Linked DNA regions of Homo sapiens: regions 1 and 3 are each linked to region 2. Evidence: promoter capture Hi-C in 16 types of primary human blood cells and fetal thymus (Javierre and others, 2016). All regions are on one chromosome and are shown on one strand. Each heading gives the region's core, a stretch centred on a gene start or on the middle of the fragment in contact. The rest is flanking DNA. Distances are from core to core; before and after follow the strand shown.

Region 1 (4,006 bases), core at 834-3,333, 930 kb before region 2:
GGAGGAAATGAGAATGATGGAGGCGGGGCAGGCAGAGATCTTTATTCTGCAGATGGTTCAGATAACATCAGAGTCAGGGAAGACAGAAGTCTGTGGCAGTCAACCAGGCGAGAGATGATGAGGACTTGAACTAGATTCAGATTAGTTTGAGTGGAACTTTCATGGGGAGAAGAGTAGGAAGGAAAGAGGATCTCAGATTAGGGTATTTTTGTAATAGTGGGTTACAACAGCATGTTAAGCGTTCCCTGCTTCTCTCTTCCTCCCCTCTCACATCCCCTTTTTTACCCTTTTCTTGTCCCTCTCTTACCTTTCTCTTTCTTTTGTTGCATCTTGGGCAAATATTTAATTAAAACAATTTTAAAAATAGTAATATATGCTAATGGAACAGAACTCAAAATACAAAAGACACATAATTTAAAATGTCTGTCTTCCTTTTCCCTTGCTTCTCAGCTGCCCAGTTCTCCTCCTTCAGTGGAACCAGCTATTGTTCCTTCCAAGGTTCTTGTGTATTGCTTCAAAGGTACTGCATGCACTTGCAATCACACATAACACACTTGCAAAGACTTTCAAAAATAACTTTCATGGAGACTTTGTGTACATACTTGACAAGTTAATTAGCATGCTAGCTGCACTAGATTAAAATTCTATTAATTAATTTGATGGGTCATTTGATTATATAGCTCTAAAAGGAAGCGCGGGCTTTTTCTTGAAGACAACAATGAACTCATCAAGGATATTCACATGAATAATCTTTGGAAAATGAAAAATATTAAATTAAACTATCTGAGCCCATCTTTTTCTAATGGATCTGAAGACTGTTAATCTAATATCTATCCAGAGTATCGATTAATCTTCATAAAACCTCAGTGAATACTCTTTTTTACTGTTAAAAAAATCTGCTCATGCAACAACATATTACCCTGCTGAAAGGTCTCTATCCTAACTGAGCAATAATTGAGACTCTAAATAAATTTGTTTTAGTTTTTTAAAAAATCAAAGAAAAATCCTTAACCTTTCTTCAGTGGTAGGTTGTGGCACATTCACATAGTGAAGCATTCCAGCTTTTATTTTCACCTTATGTACACTGCAGTGAAACTCTTACTGCAATAATTCACGGAAGAGCAGAATATATGATGCTTTCATAAATAAGTATTAGTGCATTAGTCTTGTCCCAGTCCAAGCCAGATTTTCCTGGCTGCTTATTTCCCCAGGTGGCCAGAATAATACAATCCCTGATATAAAAACTCAACGGCTTCAGATACATATCTGATCAGAAGTAACACTTTCATAATGTTTTTGCATTTCTGTTGGCGAAATATGGTGTAGTGTTTATATAACAGCCATAATAAAATAGCCACATGCATGATTAGAACAACTGTGTCTTAATATGTGGTTGTATTTTACTTTATAAAAAGGATTCCTTAGTAAGCACTTGCTCAAGGAGTAAGTCCTTCAAATACAGAAAAATTTAGACTAAAAATAATGATTATGGCATGTTTGAATGCCAGCTTTTTCCTAATATGATTTTCAGTACTTAGAAGCACGTTGACAGAATTAAAGAGAATATGAATTCCTAAAAATATTAAGAACACTATATCAAATTATACTTTTCCCCCAATAGGAAGCTAGCTAACATTCTCCAGGATGTCATAAGTCTCTTATATTTCAAGCAGATGCACTCCAATTTATTGAGTACCCAAATAATGTTTAATGTTATTTTACAAAATCAGTTTGTTTTTATATGTTGGGTCTGAAATTATGTTATTAAACATAATTTAAATGTTATTCTGAATTATTTAACAATACTCTCTGCATTAATTCTCTAGAATATGTTTATCTGTTTCATTCACTGTTGTATCCCAAAGATTTAGAACATAGTAAGTGCTAAATGATATTTTAAAAATGAACAAACACAGCATTAACTATAACCCATATTTCCATTAGAGTATCTTCTCAATCACCCATTGTACATCTTTTTACAACCTTGATTTTGCTCTTTGCTATTTCAAACTATATAGCATAGGATTAAAAAATAAAATTGAAAAAAATTTTGGCTTCATTAGCTCATTATATTCCAGCTGCAGGAAAGCTAGTATAGAAAAATATTAACATTTTAATGGTTTAATTATTTTCCATACTTCATTTTCCTAGTTCAAGGTGATGGTAAATATGGAAAAAGCTATGGATTCTAAGAAATAAATAAAATAGAAATAGAGATAGAGAGGACTAGACAGCTAGATCATGAGTCACAGGGGCCGAGACATTGGTACTGGGAGGGAGAATCTTGCTTATGTGTCATTAGTAGGCCTTTTAAAACAAGGTGCCCCACACTACTCCATGCATTTCATCATATGCTAATGAAGAGGTGCTTTAATTAGGAAGATAATAAGTGATTCAGAGGGTGAGAAAAGAAAGCAAGGATTCCAAACCATTGGAGCTAAACACATGAAGGGTCAGCTACCGAGTGAGAGAAGGCCTGTGGCACAGGGCAGAGAGCAAGTAAGCTGCATGACACTGCAATAGCAAGGAATGGAAGGCAAGGACAGCGTACTCAATGAGAACTCACACCCACAAGGGTTAGAATATCACAGGGCCATGCTGGGCCTCCACCCTGACCCATAGTATTAAGCCGATTTACCCTCTTTTTATTGTCAGAAGAAAAGCAGATTACCTCAAATTTTGGAATGAGTCACTAAAATAATCTTAAATTTATTATTCACACTATCGGTTTAGTCTTAAAATCTGTAATAGTTTTTTGACATTCCTTAGAGAATCAATGGTCTGTCATTTGATATAGGAGAAAAAACAATAGTCCTGCTCCTAAGGAAACTTTGCCAACACCTTGACTATCAGGACACTGATCATTAGTAAGAGCTGAGCTCGTTTAGAAGAAACAGATGAAAAATGGCATATAAATGTTACATATGACCATAAATCAACAATACAGCATATCTCCTAGGTCTCCTTTTTCATTCTGTTCTTACTCATGCTTTCTTCTCCCAGGCACCCAGAGAAACTATTTGGTGTAAGAAGAGAATACAATATTAAGGCATGATGAATACAAAGAAGATTTCTATTTTTAAGAGGGAGGTATTGACTTTCATCTGCATCTTGATTTAATTTTTGTTCTGGAAAACAAAGGTCTCCATAGGAATTAGTAGTGAACCTCTAGAAATACACTGGATGAAGACCGCTAAGCCAGTGCTACTCAAAATGTGATTCATAGCCTGATACCTGCTTCTGAACTGATACTGGATCGCAATAAGGTAAGTATAGAAATGAGAATAAACATTTAGAAATTTTCACAGTAATTTGGCAAAGTTTTTGTCTATTGAACTTAATCATAAAAAGTTGAGACATTTTATGAATGTCTTTTTCCATTTTTTTCAGGGAATTTTCTCTTGCATAAGTACTGGATTAGCACTTACCTATCTTTTGATTAGAAATATCAAAAATATCTTGCCAAAGACCTTCTTTTGAATACTTCTAAATATCTACAACTTTGCATATTATAAACTTCCATTTCTTTATGTTTTCTCTGCTATTTTACAAAGTAAACATACCTTAAATCTGGAATGCCTTTATATATTTTGGAAGGATTTTTAAAAATTCAGTCTTATGAAATTTAGAATTGAAACCATGCCTGTAAGGAACATTTTACTTTTGTATCAATAAACATTTACAGGTGATTGTGGATGGAGATAGTAGTAGAAGAACAGAGTCTGTCTGTACTACTCTTAGTAAACTACTAGGTTATAAATTAGGTCATTGACAAATATCGACTGACTATGCCAGGAAAAATTTCTGCACACTAAGTCATTAGAGGGATCATGTTAAGAGAAACAAATAAAACTGCAAATAATTGTGGACCAAGATCATTTTGTCAAATTGAAGTTGGACACAGGATTATGTGAGCTGAAGGAACATTTCAATAGCTTACAGTCGTAAGATGGAGGTGTGGGAATGGACACTGGTTATCAGCAAACATGAGACAACTTCAGTATCT
Region 2 (4,165 bases), core at 3-2,502:
CTCCTTGCCTTCAAGACCGGGCTCCGAGACACAGTGAGAGAGAGCAATGGAGGAAGCTCAGCAGTGTCCACTGTCGCCATTCCTTGGCCATAGAAAACAATGTATTTGAATTTTGATGTAAGCATAACAAATTGGTATGTCCATGGCATGCAACTTTGATTTTCATTTATTTATTTATAATAGCATGCCTTAAGTAATCGAACTCTTTTAAAAATACCCATTAAACGTTTGGATTTAAAGGGATTCCATGACATAGAGCAATTGACTCTGGGTGATATATATTTCTATTTTCTGTAACTGTTTTCTACATTACTAGAAATTTCATCAGAGTCTTTGCCACATTGTGTAAATATAGATCTCACAAATGAACTTTATGGTATTACAGATATGGCTTTTTTAAATTTTTGTCGTTCTTGTTTTTTGAAAACCATTTCACTGTGAGACACACTGCATCCATACATCTCTTGGTAGATTGATATTAAAATAGACAATTTCAGAATGTCAGTAGGATTTCAGTCCAAACCACTGAGATTTTATTCTTTTAAGTAGGGCAAATAATTTTATTTATTTCCTTATAATTCTTTATTATACACATGACCTTAAAAATTAAAAAAATATTTAAGAATAGAAACATAAGAGGTGGGTTTTTTAATTGTATTTTTTTCTCAAATATCTTTCAGCATATTATTTGTATGTGGCCTCCATTCTTTCCAGTGAGATAGAATTTAATCAATTGTTATGGTTTCAAAAATGTCAGAAAAATGCGACTTTTACAAAACAAAAAATTTTATATAGCAAAATAACTTGCTTTTTAAATAAATGCTGCTGTAAATAATTTTATAAAATTGAATGACTTCTTGGTTTATCCATTGCAGTGTATTTATTTCTCTTATATAAATGGAAGAATAATTCCTATATGTGAAGAATTATAATCATAGTTTTTAACCTATTTCTTTGTCATTCAGAAGATGAAGATGACACGTTGATTTCTTGTTTGAAATTAACCAAGTCCCGAGAAAAGAAAGTGAATAGTGTTAGCACGAGGAGGAAGGAAGAAATGGAGATTAGATTGGATACTCTTTCTGCATCACTGGGTAGATCCAGCACTTTAAATAACTGCAACTTGGAAGATAAATTAGCTTGGTATGAAGGTGAAGCTTACATGTGGCATCACTGGAAGCCTTTTCCTGAAAACCCTCTCTGGACATGTCTTGATTTCCAAATAGCACAAGTTGGACCCTGGGACCACTGCTCCTCTTGTATTCGCCACACACGTCTCAAGTCTTCCTGCTCAGATATGGATCTCCTACATTCATGGGTAAGTTTGCAGACTACGGAAATGTGTCATCTTATCTGGGGTTTTGTACTGTCGGGAAAGAAACAGATAGCAAAAGTGCTAATCAGTGAAATTTATCAGTTTCAGAAAAGTTACCAGAGCAAGAGTTGTCTTTCCAAAAAGCAACCAAACTCTTGTGACTTTTACCCATATTAACATTTCATATATTCCTTTGTGTACAAATTAATGACTGCATAAAATTTTTCCAGGGATTTCTTTTTGATTGAAGGAAGACTTCGTGTGTTGACTGAGATCAAGAAAATGTGAAGTGAACTGTCTAAATTATTGCAATTATAATGAAATTTCACTGAAAAATAATAGCTAATTTTAATGAGCATTTTATTTGGGCCTGCCATTTTCCTAAGCATTTTATATGTATTATCTCATTTAAATCTCACATCAACTCTATAAGGTAAGGACTTACATTATGAAATATTACCTTAAGAAATATTATTTTTGGCCAGGCACGGTGGCTCATGCCTGTAATCCCAGCACTTTTGGGAGGCCGAGGCGGGAGGATCATGAGGTCAGGAGATCGAGACCATCCTGGCTAACAAGGTGAAACCCCGTCTCTACTAAAAATACAAAAAAATTAGCCGGGCGTGGTGGCGGGCACCTGTAGTTCCAGCTACTCGGGAGGCTGAGGCGGAAGAATGGCGTGAACCCAGGAGGTGGAGCTTGCAGTGAGCCGAGATCGCGCCACTGCCCTCCAGCCTGGGCGACTGAGCAAGACTCGTCCTCAAAAAAAAAAAAAAAAAAAAAAAAAAAAAAAAGAAATATTATTTCCCCTCATTTTACAGTTGAGAAAATGGAGGCACAAAAAGTTGGTAACAGGTGCAAAGTCAGACAGCTAACAGGAGGTAGAGCCAAGACCTATAACCTAGGTCTTGCTTTTAGCTAGAGCTCCTGCTTTTAGCTACTACATTAGAGTGTTTTCCATATACGAGGGCAGACTCTAAGGCTATTATGTGATACGTGAGAAAGAGTATGCTCTCTGGAGTCAAACAAATTTGGATGGATTCTGGCTGTGCTACTTTTTTTTTGGGCTTGGATAAGTTATTTAAACCTTTTAATCTTAACTTTCTTAACTAAAAAATGGAAATAGTCAAGAAGCTAAAGTCAAATATTATAAATCTTCTAGTACTTAAGAGTGGTACTTTTTTTTCAATTTCCTTGTAAATTGCTCAAGGCATGTTTTATAACTTTACCTACAGCTCCTCTGGTCATGTGTGTTTTCAGTGAATGAATGGGACAATTCTGTGTATCCAGGGAGCCTACTCTCTACCATTTTCCTCAAAGAATCAGTCTCTTCTTAGACAGAAGCTACATTTTATAACATATTTAGAGGTCTCTTAAAAGGCATATTTTCTCTTGGAACTTTTTTTGCCTTTTAAGATTTGTGCATTAAGTCTGCAAAGACTAGAATTAAAGTAACTTGTGTTCAAAGTGCCATAGTAAATATAACAGGTATCTGATAACAGACTTCGAACTGATGAAACTGACCAACATTAATCATTTCTAAATATCCTCCTTCTTCTTTAATCTTCATCTTCTTTTCTGGGACTGCTGCACTTTGCAGGTTTTCTCTTAGAGTAGCTTCTTGGAGAGTAGCTGGTAATATAATTAGGACGTGCTTCTGATGACTCCCTCTGATATCTTCAGAAGCAGGATCAAGGCTGATGACTCCTTGGCAAGTGGCTAAGCTGTTGTATAGGCATCTGAACACAAATAGTCAGAGTTTTCTTCAAGAATAAAATCTGGACTCCCTAACTTGGCATTTCTGGATTTCATCAGTCTGGACTCAATCTAATTTTTCAGTCTTATCTGTGCACTACCCCCACCTTATTGATTTCCTATGCCGAACTGCCAAACTGAATGATTTGCTATTCCTAAAGGCTGTCTCACACTTTCTTCCCTCTATCTTTGTGACAGTGTGATGGCCTCTGCCTGATATGTGAATTCTCTCTGTTAGAACCCATCCCATCATCCCTTAGACTCAGATCAAATACTTCATCATCTAGAAAGCTTTTCTGAGTAACACCAGGCAGAAGTAGTCCCTCCTTCCTTTGAACTTCTACATTATTTGAGGGCATTATTCTTTCATTCCATATCCATGAAACACATCCTGCCAACCTACTATTTGCTATTCACAATATCAGGCACTGGAGATACAGAGCTAAATGATATCTACACTGCCCTCATCTTCATGGAACTTAACCATACTCCACTTGTGCTGGAATTAGTTCAGTATTTGTATACTTCCTATGAATAACTTATCTTTGTATCCTCCATAGTTCCTATAATGTAATGGGTCCTCAATAAATATCTGAAGAAGTGGCCAGGTGTGGTGGCTCACACCATTAATCCCAGCACTTTGGGAGGCCAAGGTGGGAGGATCACTTGATCCCAGGATTTCAAGACCAACCTGGGAAACAAAGTGAGACCCTGCCTCCAAAAAAAAAAAAAAAAAAAAAAAGTGAGCATTTTCTAACATGAAGTGCAGAACAGAAATAAATAAATAAATATTTGAGTAGCACTTGTTGCCTAAATAAATGGAGGTTAGAAACCAATGGACTTTGTTTCCATAGATCCAGATAAAGCATATTTCTTCTTGTTTTTCTAGCTGTTCTTATAGCCAAAGCTTTCCTCATTCTAATAAATCCAGTTATAGATAAATTATTTTGTACATGTGAGTGTTTGTGGATGTGTGTAGGTGTAGGGAAATACACAACAGTCATATTTTTCTTTTTTATTTAGGTAGTTTTGTCTATTTTAATATATAACTTAACGATTAAGTGAGTTTTATCTGCAGAAGGTCAAACATATCTA
Region 3 (4,087 bases), core at 418-2,917, 910 kb before region 2:
TAGCTGTTGCAGGCTGTTTTAGTCAGCTGGTCAAGTTGACCCTGGTACCATGGGCACAGTCCGTCTTATTACTCAGGCACTTCATGTTCTTAAATGAAGTCGCCCTAAAACGTTCGCTTATATTGTCTCTCATCTTCAGTGGGCTGAGAGCAAGCACAGCTATCTGGATTTCATTGCATTTTTTTTTCTTTTTTAAGTCTGGAGACATTTAATCCCCAATAAAAGTCAGCAGAGCTTGTGTGGTTGAGGTAAAATGGTGAGCAGGGGAAGAGGCGGTGAAGTCCTTGCCTGTGCTGTCTAGGAGCATTCTTATCTTAATACTTCTGTAGAGTCTCGTGCTATTTTCAAACAAAGACAATTTTAGCGTAGTTCCCTAAATTTTGCCCCCACCCCTTTTTTGGCAAATCACCCTGATGCAAAACTTTCAAAAGGCTAAAAAAAAAAATACTGACAACAAATTATTTTAAGTGGTATGTTCAACTGCTGTATATACAAGAATGTGTCTCTAGTCTCTCCTTCTCCAATGAAATTAGCCAATAGTTTTAATTTTTCCTCATTTTCTAAAGTGTCTTACTCTTCTCTGACTGTTTGAACTTTGCACTGTGCAGCTTTCTCAAATCTCTGCACCAAAAATGAATTTTATAATACTTGACCTTTTAATCTAGCAAATCAGACCCTTTTGTAATTAAATTAAACTTTTCATAGGATGAACCGAACTATCAAATGTCATCTTATCTTTAGCAGCAGAAGCTGGTGCAGAAACATCAGACACTGTAGACAATAAAGAATCAAAACAAATCATTAACACCAGTCTAAATGCCTTTAGACTGTTTTACAATGTCTTCATGCTTATCTGTTGAAAATAAGCTGTCAAAAACTATGTTGCTGTCTGTTCAAAGAATACAAAGTAATACACTAAGTATATTTGCCTTGAAGCTGTCTGGAGCAGCTTTGAAAAAGATTAGCAACTTAGTATGGACATATGAGTGCTGAGGCGAATGGAATTGCCATTTTGGGGACAAGAAGCACTAAATGTAGATGTGCTATATTGTGCTTATAAGGTTGCTCTTTGCTAATAAAAGCTAATGGAAAATGAGAAAGAATCAATTATTGATAGAATATATGGAATGAAAATAAACATTAGAAGATAGGGGCTAAACTGCCATTAAACATTTAGATATATTTGAAATCCTTCTTAACATTTTAAAACACATTTATACTTATAATTAAAAATTCTCTCAAAAATCTATGAATAATAAACAAGTGAAGTTCAGTCATAATTTTCAAACTTCAAAAATAACCGCTGTCTTATTCCAGGCTCCAAAAATATTTAAGCAGATCTAATAAAACCAGCAAGATATCTGAATAAAATTTGCCGCATCTTATCACCTTCATGATCTGTGAGGATCTATTTTCTGAGTAACCAAGCTGCTAAGTTTTTTTTTTTTCATTTTTCATTTTTATTTTTTAGAGACAGGGTCTCTCTGTGTTGCCCGGGTTGAAGTGCACTGGCATGATCATGGCTCACTGTGGCTTTGACCTTCTGGGCTTGAGTGATCCTCCTGCCTCAGCCTCCCAAGTAGCTAGAACTAGAAGCATACACCACCACACCCAGCTAATTTTTTATTTATTTATTTAGGGAGGAGGTGGAGTCTCACTATGTTGCCCAAGCTGGGCTGGAACCCCTGGCCTCAAGTGATCCTCCTGCCTTAGCCTCCCAAATTGTTGGGATAATGGGCCTGAATACAGGCATGAACCACCACACCTGACTGCATATTTGTTACAGGCAGATAAATATATTCTTCTGTGAGGTCAAGAAGAAGCTGATGATGCCCTGTTTCTATGAACAGTAAAGGAAAGAGATGTTGTATACAAAGCACTTAACACTGGGCTTGGCATCTAGTAAGTGCTCAATAAATGCCTTTCCCATTAAATTTCCCATTAAATAAACCTATTCAGCCAAAGTGTGATCAGATACTGTTTTAATACTTGGAGACTGGTTTGACAGCTACAAAATAAGATGTTCGCTAGGTAGGTATCTGCCTTTTCAAAGTTTAGGAGAACAGAGAAATGCTCTGGTAAAGCTAATGCAGGTGGTGGTTACACCTTGTCTCTAAAGACAAGAATGGAGAAGACTTTGCAGTTATGTAGGCCAAAACATCTGTTTTCTAATCCAGGCCGCAAGAGATACAGGGCTTCAGGTCTCTCTGAGATTCAGATCTCTCATCTGAAAAATCTGAATAACACTGCCTACTTCACAGATTTGTCGTGAGCATCAAATGAAATCATGTTTGTAAAACGTGTATCAAATTGGCTAGTTTATAGCAGGTGTTCATTAAATATCTTTAACAGATTAAGTGTTCTTTTCCTTTTCTTTGAGGGAGTGAGTTGGCAAGAGCAAGGTAGGGTGTCAAGGTGCTAGCTGAGCAGGCAGCAACAACAATTACGTGGACCGAACCAACACAACTGGGGATGGTAAAGTCCATGGCAGAATTGGCATGGGGCAGCCTGTATCCCACTCTAGACCTACCATGAGTTCAGGTTAACAGCAACAAAATTCATGTCAAATTACTTCCTGTTGAGCCTGCCTTGTCCTTCTAGGGTCTGCATGGAGTATCAATTAGTGGTACTCAAACACTAGTATAAGTATCAGAATCACCCAGGGAGCTTGGTAAGAATACAAAGGCCCATATCCTATCCCTCTTCTACAATTCAGGGCATCTGTGTTCTTTAATAGTTCTCCAGATGATTCTGATATTCTTCTGCGTTTGTAAACAACTGGCATAGGTAATATAGTTGCAGCAGACATGGCTGAGGTCACTTCTCTGGCTCCAGCCACACCTGGAGTAGACAGTTCCAGTGCACTCTCCAGTTTTCTGACAGCCATGTCTTTGACTTCTGCCCTAGTTCTCTTTTGATGCCAAAGACTGTGGCCAGAGTGAGCTTCAGCAGAACAATGTTTGACCAATGGGGAATATAAGCCATGGATCAATGCTTCCTATCCACCCTCTGGTAGATAGTTTTGGGAGGCATTGTGTGGACCCTCAAAAGGTCGCAGTAGAATAATTCACCATTCTCCTTAGCAGCAGTCTGGAAAACATACTCATATTGGATTTTTATACTCAATATGAGATTATATATTCATATTGGATTCCTCCCCGCCCCCCACCCCATCCCCGTATTCATCCCACACTTCCTGGAAACTCGCTTCTATTTCCTAGAGCCACCTCCCAAGTGAACTCCTGCACACAAGCCCTTACCTCCGGTGCTGCTTTGGGGAAACCACAACCTAAGGCAATGATACAGTGGCTGAAAACGTGTCTGGGACTGAGCAGAACATTGAGCTTCCACCAGGAAGCTTCTATTGCATGCAATGCAATGACAGAGCAAATTAAAAATAAATAAAGCTCCGAAGGGCAAGGGAGTTTTTGTTCAGAACTATAGCAAGTGGCACACTGTGGAAAAGGGAGGCATGCACAAAACTGGACCAGGTGTGTATGGTCTGTTTGAGTGGACAATGGTTCAGGCCCTGGATTCTCTTACACAGATGCCAACAAGAACAAAGGTAGTGCCTGAGAACACTGATAGAATATTTGATGTGTCCAAAAAGACACATCCTTGGAACAAAAATGATCTTCGCTGGTGTGCAGTAAAGAATTAATTTTGTCCAAAGAAAGATTTGGCCTTTTCCCTGGGCTCCTGGGAGGTAAATCTCTAAGACCTTGGAATGTCCTTGCCCTATATGAGTTTCTTTGTTTTCCGGGAGGCCTTGGGCCACACCAGATTGTCTGTGCTAACAATGGAACAACATGTTATTTATTCTTGGGCAACATGTTATCGTTTTGACCTCTGGAGGGACTGGAGACTATGATCAGCCGTGTGGTAAGTCATGTCAATGTGACCAATCCCCCATAAAACTCAGGACACTAAAACTTAGGTGAGCATCTCTAGTTGGTGAGACTCCATGTGTACTGTCACTCATCCTTTCTGGGAGAAATAGGCACAGTCTGCACCACTTCACTGGGCGAGGACAACTACAAGTTGCATGTTTTGTTGTCTCCCAGATCTGCCTTATGTGACTCTTCCT

Evidence for each region. The method cuts DNA at HindIII sites, captures the fragments that hold promoters and counts their contacts. A CHiCAGO score of 5 or more calls a contact.
Region 1: a contact is called between a fragment that was not itself captured here and the fragment with the promoter of SAMSN1-AS1 in region 2, in 1 of 17 cell types (total CD4 T cells). The highest score is 5.5, in total CD4 T cells.
Region 3: a contact is called between a fragment that was not itself captured here and the fragment with the promoter of SAMSN1-AS1 in region 2, in 1 of 17 cell types (monocytes). The highest score is 5.4, in monocytes.

The regions. Positions count from the first base shown.
Region 1 is chr21:15,510,379-15,514,384 of GRCh38, reverse strand. No RefSeq gene overlaps it. Among named protein-coding and RNA genes, the nearest start is that of USP25, 220 kb to the left of the region's middle. The HindIII fragment of the contact is 8,662 bases long and covers 1-4,006 here.
Region 2 is chr21:14,579,289-14,583,453 of GRCh38, reverse strand. It overlaps SAMSN1-AS1 (SAMSN1 antisense RNA 1), which reads right to left and starts at 1,252. Exons shown (of 5, transcript NR_046512.2): 1 at 1,163-1,252. It also overlaps a transcript of SAMSN1 not described here. The HindIII fragment of the contact is 2,204 bases long and covers 1,160-3,363 here.
Region 3 is chr21:15,490,093-15,494,179 of GRCh38, reverse strand. It overlaps the pseudogene CYCSP42. Among named protein-coding and RNA genes, the nearest start is that of USP25, 240 kb to the left of the region's middle. The HindIII fragment of the contact is 3,386 bases long and covers 1-3,360 here.